Regions from separate parts of the Homo sapiens genome. Here region 2 is linked to region 1. The links are contacts of gene promoters, found by promoter capture Hi-C in blood cells and fetal thymus (Javierre and others, 2016). All regions are on one chromosome and are shown on one strand. Each heading gives the region's core, a stretch centred on a gene start or on the middle of the fragment in contact. The rest is flanking DNA. Distances are from core to core; before and after follow the strand shown. Region 1 holds the start of FCRL5 (Fc receptor like 5). Region 2 overlaps FCRL1 (Fc receptor like 1).

Region 1 (5,214 bases), core at 2,664-5,163:
GTCCCCAGAGTGTGATGTTCCCCTTCCTGTGTCCATGTGTTCTCATTGTTCAATTCCCACCTATGAGTGAGAATATGTGGTGTTTGGTTTTTTGTTCTTGCCATAGTTTACTGAGAATGATGATTTCCAATTTCATCCGTGTCCCTACAAAGGACATGAACTCATTTTTTATGGCTGCATAGTATTCCATGGTGTACACGTGCCACATTTTCTTAATCCAGTCTATCATTGTTGGACATTTGGGTTGGTTCCAAGTCTTTGCTATTGTGAATAATGCCGCAGTAAACATACGTGTGCATGTGCCTTTATAGCAGCATGATTTATAGTCCTTTGGGTATATACCCAGTAATGGGATGGCTGGGTCAAATGGTATTTCTAGTTCCAGATTCCTGAGGAATCGCCACACTGACTTCCACAATGGTTGAACTAGTTTACACTCCCACCAACAGTGTAAAAGTGTTCCTATTTCTCCACATCCTCTCCAGCACGTGTTGTTTCCTGACTTTTTAATGATTGCCATTCTAACTGGTGTGAGATGATATCTCATTGTGGTTTTGATTTGCATTTCTCTGATGGCCAGTGATGGTGAGCATTTTTTCATAAGCCTAAGTAAGTACCTTTACCAGTAAAATCTTCCAAACATTTAAGGAAGAAATAACATCAGTCGTACACAAACTCTTCACGAAAATAGAAAAAGAAGGAGCTTGCTTATGAGACCAATATAATTTTGTTACTAAAATTCATCAAGAAAGAAAATTGGTCCATCTTCCTCATGAACACAAATGCTAAAAAGCACAGCAAATTTATAAGTCAAATTCAAGAATATATAAAAAAGATAACACATCATGGCCAAGTTGGAATGCACAGTTGATTTTACATTTATAATCATCCATGTAATTCATCATATTAACAATAAAAGTAAATAATCATATGATCATATTAATAGAGGCAATAAAGGTATTTACTGAAACAGCATCCATTATTTAGGAAAAAAGGAAAATTTCTTAGCAAATTAGAAATATAAGGAAAGGTATTTAATCTGATACATAGTATTCACCAAAAAAAATTACAGAAAATATTATATTTAATATTGAAATATTAAGAGCTTTTTCTGTGAGACTAAGACAGGACACCTGATATTACCACTTCTCTTTAGTATCATGTTTGAGTTCCTAGTCAGTGCAATAAGTGAGAGAAAAGGAAGTTTAAGTATTAAAAATAATGAATAAAACTATCATTATATGATTGTGTTTGCATGAAATCTAAAATAACCTAAAGATAAACTATTAAAATTAATAAGTAAATTCCGCAATTTTAGTAGATATTAAAAGGTCAGTAAGGCCGGGCATGGTGGCTCACGCTTGTAATCCTAGCACTTTTGGAGGCCAAGGCGGGCAGATAACTTGAGGTCAGGAGTTTGAGACCAGCCTGGCCAACATGGTGAAACCTCATCTCTACTAAAAATACAAAAATTAGCTGGGCATGGTGGCAGACACCTATAATCCCAGCTACTTGGGACGCTAAGGCAGGAGAATCGCTTGAACCTGGGAGGTGGAGGTTGCAATGAGCCAAGATCGCACCAGTGCACTCCAGCCTGGGGGACAAGAGCAAAACTCTGTCTCAAAAAAATAAAAATAATGGTCAGTAAAACAAAAAAGTATTATATTTCTATATACCAATATACATTTAGAAAAAAATCTAATGATGTCACTTACAATATCATAAAAAACATATCAATAACCTAAGGATAAACCTACCAAAAGATATACTTTCCAGAGGCAAAGCTATAGAAAATTACTGAAAGAATGTCAAGTTAACCTAAATAAATGAGGGGATATTGTATGTTTATGGATTGGGAGACTAAATCTTTTCTAATTTATACAAATTAACTTATAAATCCAATGCAATCCCAGTTATTAAAAATCTACTAGGCTTTTGGGGAGAGAGGGGACAGGAATTGACAAGGTGATTTTTAAATGTATAGAAAAATTCAAAAAGCCAAAAATAGCCATAACAATTTTGAAGAAGAACAGCATTTTATGACTTAAACTATCAGTTAATAAGAGTTATTATAAAGCCACAATAATTAGAAGAGTGTGGTATTGGCATGAGGATAGACAAAATAGACTAATGGACAAGAAAGGAGTTTCCAAAAATAGACCTACATGGCTTTTTGTTTTATAACAAAGGTGAAATTGCACTGTACTGTGGAAAAAATCAACTTTCAATAAATAGGGCAGGATAAATTATCTGTATTTAAGTTAAAAGTGAATATAAACACTCAAACTGTACACAAAAATCAATTGCAATGCTCTTATAAATATAAAATAAATGGTAAAAAATAAAGTTTCTAGAAGATAACCTGGGAGAGTATCTTTATGATCTTGGAGTAGACTAACTTTCTTAGAAGGGATGCAAAAATCTCTAACCACAAAGGAGAAGACTGATAAACTGGACTATGTCAAAGTTAGAATGGTTGTTCATCAAAAGGCACTATCAATGAGCAAAGAAGCAAGCCACAGATTGAAGGAAGACATTTGCAATACATATATCCAACAAAAGGTTTATATTCAGGGTTTAAAATAACTACAAAACAGGAAAAGAAAGACTGAAAGTTAAGAGAAAAATGAGGAAATATTTGAACAGAGATTGCACATAAAAAGGATATCTACATCACCAATTAGACTATGAAAAAATGCTCATTCTCAAATTCACCAGAGACATACAAATTAAAACCACATTGAGATAATTCTAGCAGAACGGCCAGATTTTACTAGATGACAATACCAATATCAGCAAGAATTTTAGAACAATGATAACTCTCATACATTGGTTGGTGGGTGTGGTGGGAATTGGCACAACCACTTTGGAAAATAATTTGGTAATACTTCCTAAACTGAATATATGCATACCTTATGAGCCAGGACTTCCACTCCCAGATATATACCCAACAGAATTATGTGCGCATATGCCCCAATAAATGTATACAAGAATGTTCATAGCAGCACTATTTGTTTTAGCACCAAAAGTAGGTAAAGATTCTGTGTTCCCTTTGAAGTTCTCCTCTTAATCTCTATTCACCCCTGTAACCCCTGTATGGTTTTCTTGCCTCAGGGTGCAGTGGGTCAGATGTGACATAATATACCTAAGGTGATGTGCATTTGTAGATATAAAATTAAATGCCCCCTTAGGAAGACCAAGGTATGGGCCCAGAGAGAAAGGGTGAGAAAATATTTGAAAGAAAGAAACTGGCACTCCTCGTGGCAGCTAATGTCTTAGGAACCTCTGTTGACCAGTATACCAGGATGGAAACTTGACTTTTAGAAAATCATAAGAGCTATACATTCACCTGGTAATTTTTTAAAAAATCAAACGGTACAGAAATACATAAAATAAATTGTGTTCTTCCCACCTATTGCTCCTCAAACATAATCAATATTTTTGTGTGTACTTTCCAGGAAAAGAAGAAAGTATACTTAAAAGAGTTGATGTACACATATATCCTATTTTTTATATTTACCCAATGGGATAATACTACAAAACCAATCTATATCTCACTTTTATTCTCTTCACATCAAACAAGGTGGTCTTCCCTTCTTGGCATGTTCAGATTTACCTTATTCTTTAATGATTGCTTGTCACCATACGGATGAATCAGAATATTCTTAAACAGTCCCCATATCATGGTTTTTTGTTTTGTTTCCAGTGTTTAGGCAATAATGAATGCTACAATAAACGTTCTTATAGTACTCTCTTCAGATACTTCCTTCAGGGTAATTTCCCAATAGCAAAAATGTAGGGTCAAGGGTATTTGATTTTTTAAAACCTTAACTTTTTTTTTTCTTTGATCATCGGGTAGGAAACTGTGATTAGCAGCTGAAGACGGGTACTCCCACTTCCTTTTTTCAATTCACTAATGCATTCTGCTCTTTTTGAGAGCACAGCTTCTCAGATGTGCTCCTTGGAGCTGGTGTGCAGTGTCCTGACTGTAAGATCAAGTCCAAACCTGTTTTGGAATTGAGGAAACTTCTCTTTTGATCTCAGCCCTTGGTGGTCCAGGTCTTCATGCTGCTGTGGGTGATATTACTGGTCCTGGGTGAGTAAAAGGGCTCACCATGGGCCCTGGGTGGGATCGGGACAGCTTCTCTCTCCACCGCAGGCCTGGTCCTTTCTTGGGGCTCAGCCCCTGCTGAGAGACTCTCTCCTACATTAGGAGACTGTATTTTTGAACTTTACTCTGTAGCTCAGGGCTTTCTCTTGAGGCTGAAGAAAATGGCCACAGCTGGAAGGAATTTTCAATCTTACAGAGTAGGAAACCACAATAACCACAACAATTAAAATTTCATTTATTTTTTTCTTTAAAAAGTACTTCTTAAAGTCCAGAGAATGTTTCATGTTTGTTTGTTCATATTGTCTTACTCATAGAAGAGCCCACTCTCCTCTCTGCAGAGGAGATGTATTTATTCCTTGTATGACAAGGCCAGATCCTGGTCCCCAGCATAAGAGGCAAGGTTTCTAACGGGAAAGACAGGTCTTTCTCTTGTACATAATTGCAAACCACTGCAGCAATTGGCTGATTAAGAACATGGGGTGGAGGAGGTCGCAGAGGCGTAGGTGGACAAAGCAAGGATAAATCTAAAGCATATGACTTTCTCTTTGTCCCTGTGGGTGTACGTAAGTCTCTATCAACTCATATGTGCGAACTGGTTGATTTTTACTAAAGGTTAAATATTATAATTAAATATGTTTATTTATTTGTTCAGCAAATGTGTTTAGTAATATCTATGCACAGGTGCTGAGCAATTAGAGTCCATAGGAGACACTACGTCTATGTTCTGGAAAGTCATGACATAGAAGGGCTCCCAGCAAGGCCAATGTACTTTCAAGCAGCTATGCAACAAGCTCCCAGTTAAATAATTGTCCAGGCAAAGTTACCAATGAATGCTGTAGGCAGATAATAAACTGTATTCAAAATAGCTAGTAAAGACTTCATGAAACTTAGAGGTGAGTAGGAGCTAGAGGAGCAGAAATGGAGCAGGCGTGATATAAGAAAAGAGGACCTCACAGTTGGAAGGTGCATGGACTATAATTCCTGAAGTAGGAATACATCTCAGTGTGGCCCCACACAATGTGGGTAATGGCCAGGTCCTGAGCATGAGAGGGCAAAGTTTATAACATGGGCTCTGGGGTCAAACAGGATCTAGGTTCAAACTT
Region 2 (4,549 bases), core at 1,939-4,438, 240 kb before region 1:
GAAGTTCTTTAGATGTTTAGAGGAAGAAAATATTTTTTAAACTACTTCCATCTAGAGATCCCAATGTTTAGTTGTCTTTTTAATATAATGTATTATCATTTATGCCAACAATAAACAGGTATTCTTTTTTTTTTCAAATGAGAGTAGCACTTTTCACTGGTACCCGCACATGAAGGAGCATTTTCTTCTGCCCCTTCCTCAAGTTGCTTGTTCTGCCCAGCAAAGTGTTTTCCATCTGGAGTGAATCAATATTTATTCATTTAATATTTAGGGAGCACTCATGATGTGAATGACACTATTCTGGGAATGGGAAATACCACACCTTACGCTCATGGAGTTACCCGCTGGTGCATGCTCTGCGGTGCCCCACTCAGCATGTGCACAGAGCCGTGACTCATACCACACTGCTGTGCCTTCTAGCTGCTCATTTCCCCGTAACTTAGTATTCTGCTCAGGACAATTTGTCACAGGCTTCTCTCCTTCAGTGTGATATCTGCATGATCTGGGATGCAATTTCAGATAAATAACATGTGTCTCTGTGTTTGCAGGAGCCTTCCCAGCCCTCTACCCCAAGAGTTCACCTACCTCAACTCACCTACCCCAGGGCAGCTACAGCCTATATATGAAAATGGTGAGCCTTCCCAAATGGCCCAGGCCAACGATGGTACAGCAAGCTAGGGAAGGGACAATGGGATAACATCTGCTAGCCAAACCTGACTTTGCTGTGCCCTAGCCTCTGCTACAAACAAATGACTCATCTGTCTTCATGGCTGTGACAGGTGGAAGGTATGGAGTAATTTGAAAGACAGGAATCAGGGGCTGTGTCATGAAGTCTCCCTCCTTCTCTTGCAGTGAATGTTGTAAGTGGGGATGAGGTTTATTCACTGGCGTACTATAACCAGCCGGAGCAGGAATCAGTAGCAGGTGAGACATGGGGGAGTAAATTTGTCTCTGACTTTTGTCTTTCCCAGAACCAAGAGAACAATCAGTGGCTGTGCATGGCAGACAACAGCATTCCTCAGAGCAGAAGGCTGTGAGCATCACTGTGTGTACTTAATGGCTGTCCTTGGGTCTGGAGCTACCTTGAGTAGAGCCCAGAGCTAATGCTAAGGTTCTTTCTTTCCCCTGGGGATGGGCTGTCAAATTTCTTAAATTATAGTCACTTAGAAAGAGCAAAAATCCCATGGCTTACCTCTTCCTGACCTCCCAACACGATGGAGGTAAAACATGTAGTTACAATAAGGTGTCATTGTATGGCCTACATTTTATGCCTCGCTCCCCAGTCATGTGGCAGCATCAGAGGTGATGGCTTCTGCCTGCCCTCTTTAAGTAGCCTGACATACTCCTCATAACCCCATCACAGCTGCCTAGCTGGTGCTCTTGTCCCATCCTACACATGGTGAGCCCAGAATAGCTGAGAGGTATAAAGGCCCCTCCTGGCATAGAGGGTCTACTTACCCTCCCACCCCCAGGCTACCAATTTTCCTCTGGCTACTAAGGGAATCACATTTGTGATAAACAGAAAAGCAAGACAGAAAATATTAATGGAAATCAATTCATGGGAAATAGATGGGAGAGGAAGAAGCTTTTCTTAACACAAGTTTAGTGAAGGACTTTAAATATAAGTGGAATGTCACAGCACTTGTCTTTTCTCCACAGCAGAAACCCTGGGGACACATATGGAGGACAAGGTAAGAGTCTCTATTGTTCTTTCTTCCATGTTCTTTCTTTCCTCTGGGGACTGGTTCTCAAACTTCTTAAATTATAGCCACTTAGAAAGAGCAAAAATCCCATGGTCTACCTCTTCCCTACATCCCAAAGCAATGGAGGTAAAAACACATAGTTACAACAATAAGGGGTCATTGTACAAGGAAAGTTTGAAGGCTTACAAATACATTTACTTTAGCAATGGACACATGAATGATTTTTAGCTAAACTGCAGTGCATACCTAGTCTAAAAATTCTATTTATTGGAAAATCTTTATCCTAAAATATTGTTGAGCCATACATCCATCACTTTGTACTATAAGGTTAACCAAACAATCTACAGCAACTAAATTAATATTGAACAAACCTAAGCTAATAGTAATTTGTGTCACTAAAAATTAGCATTTGGTAAACTTTGAATAATTCAAGGTATCACCACTGATACAAAAATACTTTCTTAAAACTGCAGAAATTCCAGCTCTGTGCATGTGTGCAAAAACAGTAGGTGCTTTGCAGTTTTGTCTAGTGTGGTGTGGCAGCCAGATATCTCAGAACAAAATTCAAATCCTTGGTGAAGTCCAGTGACATGCTACATTTAATTTATGAATATAAAATTCTGACAACCTTTTAAAAAATGACAGCCCATGGGCCTGCCTAACAAAGGCCCATAAGAATGAGCGAAGGCACTGTATGTTTGCATCAGTTTGCAGCTTATCAGGAGCATCTTTGTAGTCCACCAGTGGGATACAGGCACTCTAAAAATGCTGGCCTTGGACCACAGTTTTCCAAGAGGCCCTTATTTTTGCATTGCGTGATGTGCCATGATAAGATGCATCCAAGCTAACTGGGGAAGGGGACCAGTGGAGGCATGTTCTGCTTGTCTTCCCTGCTCTAGTCCTAATCTTTGCTTCCAGGTTTCCTTAGACATCTATTCCAGGCTGAGGAAAGCAAACATTACAGATGTGGACTATGAAGATGCTATGTAAGGTTATGGAAGATTCTGCTCTTTGAAAACCATCCATGACCCCAAGCCTCAGGCCTGATATGTTCTTCAGAGATCCTGGGGCATTAGCTTTCCAGTATACCTCTTCTGGATGCCATTCTCCATGGCACTATTCCTTCATCTACTGTGAAGTGAAGTTGGCGCAGCCCTGAAGAAACTACCTAGGAGAACTAATAGACACAGGAGTGACAGGGACTTTGTTATCAGAACCAGATTCCTGCCGGCTCCTTTGAAAACAGGTCATATTGTGCTCTTCTGTTTACAAGAGGAAACAAGATGGAATAAAAGAAATTGGGATCTTGGGTTGGAGGGACAGTGAAGCTTAGAGCACATGAACTCAAGGTTAGTGACTCTGCAGGACTTCACAGAGAGAGCTGTGCCCATCATTCAGTCCAAGTGCTTTCTCTGCCCAGACAGCACAGAACTCCAGCCCCGCTACTTACATGGATCATCGAGTTTCCACCTAAAATATGATTCTATTTATTTTGAGTCACTGTTACCAAATTAGAACTAAAACAAAGTTACATAAAAAGTTATTGTGACTCCACTTAATTTTAGTGACGTATTTTTGTATATATAGGCCAACCTATACCACATCCAAAATTATGTATCTATTACAGCCCCTAGAAGCTTTATAAATACAGTGTGTCTTCTTTTATTCACAAAATTTTTGAAATCGTGGTAATATGGTTTGAAACCTGTATCTTAATTATTTTTTTTTTAAATTGAGACAGGGTCTCACTCTGTCACTCAATCTGGAATGCAGTGGCACAATCTTGCCTCACTGCAACGCCTGCCTCTCAGGCTCAAGCAAACCTCTCACCTCAGCCTGCTGAGTAGCTGGGACTACAGGCACATGCCACCAAACTTGGCCATTTTTTGTCTTACGTAGAGACAAGATTTCACCGTTTTGCCCAGGCTGGTCTCAAACTCCTGGGCTCAAGCAATGTATTGAATTTTAAAATAACCAGGCACTCACTCTTATGAATTAATAAACATTTGGAGGTATATAAAGTAAAAAGTTAAAGTCTTTCCTGTAAGTTAACACAAATGTTAACTATTGTTAAAAACTTTACAGGTAGCTCTCTAGATATTTTTCTATTTTTGTATGTATACTTATGCATACATGTAAGTATATAAACATTTAGAAGTGTACCTATCTAACAAACTATTATGAAATACTTTCAAATCTGTAAATAGATCTATTATACTATTTTAAAAGTCTCTATAGTAGTGTGTTATATAGATAAATCATAACTTTTTTCTTTTTTTATTGTAGTAAATATGCACAACATAAAATTGATCATTTTAACCATTTTTAAGTGTACAATTCAGTGGCATTAAGTACTATCATAATATATTTTAATCCTTCTCATCACTGGTGGACATTAAGGAGACTCTCAAAAAATTCATATTATAAAAACAAAGTTCAAACAAATGTCTTTGTACTAGCATATTATGGCACTCCTGCTGGATTATCTGAAGGATAAATTTGTAAATCTAGTATTGCTAGATTATGCATATTAAATATTCTTGTTAAATAGTCTTCAATGTCTCTCAGGTAAGGCTGTATCAATTTATATCTTCACCAACAACGTCTGGGAAATCAGTTTGTGGGGTGTATTACTTAGTTTTCACATTGCTAATAAAGACATATCCAAGACTGGGTAATTTATAAAGGAAAGAGGTTTAATTGACTCACAGTTCCAAATGGCTAGAGAGGCCTCCGGACACTTACAATCATGGCAGAAGGGGAAGCAAACATGTCCTTCTTCACATGGCAGCAGGAGAGAGAAACTGTCCTCTGTTCAGCCTTTGCCCATCTTCTATGTCATTTGT

The links. Contacts are between HindIII fragments. The CHiCAGO score rates a contact against its expected background, and 5 or more counts as called.
Region 2: a contact is called between a fragment that was not itself captured here and the fragment with the promoter of FCRL5 in region 1, in 1 of 17 cell types (naive B cells). The highest score is 5.3, in naive B cells.

What each region holds. Positions count from the first base shown.
Region 1 is chr1:157,551,214-157,556,427 of GRCh38, reverse strand. FCRL5 (Fc receptor like 5) reads left to right here and starts at 3,913. Exons shown (of 17, transcript NM_031281.3): 1 at 3,913-4,096. The coding sequence starts at 4,066. The HindIII fragment of the contact is 25,493 bases long and covers 1-5,214 here.
Region 2 is chr1:157,794,243-157,798,791 of GRCh38, reverse strand. It overlaps FCRL1 (Fc receptor like 1), which reads left to right. Exons shown (of 11, transcript NM_052938.5): 8 at 549-631; 9 at 853-924; 10 at 1,660-1,691; 11 at 2,622-4,389. The coding sequence ends at 2,693. Among named protein-coding and RNA genes, the nearest start is that of FCRL2, 19 kb to the right of the region's middle. The HindIII fragment of the contact is 309 bases long and covers 3,034-3,342 here.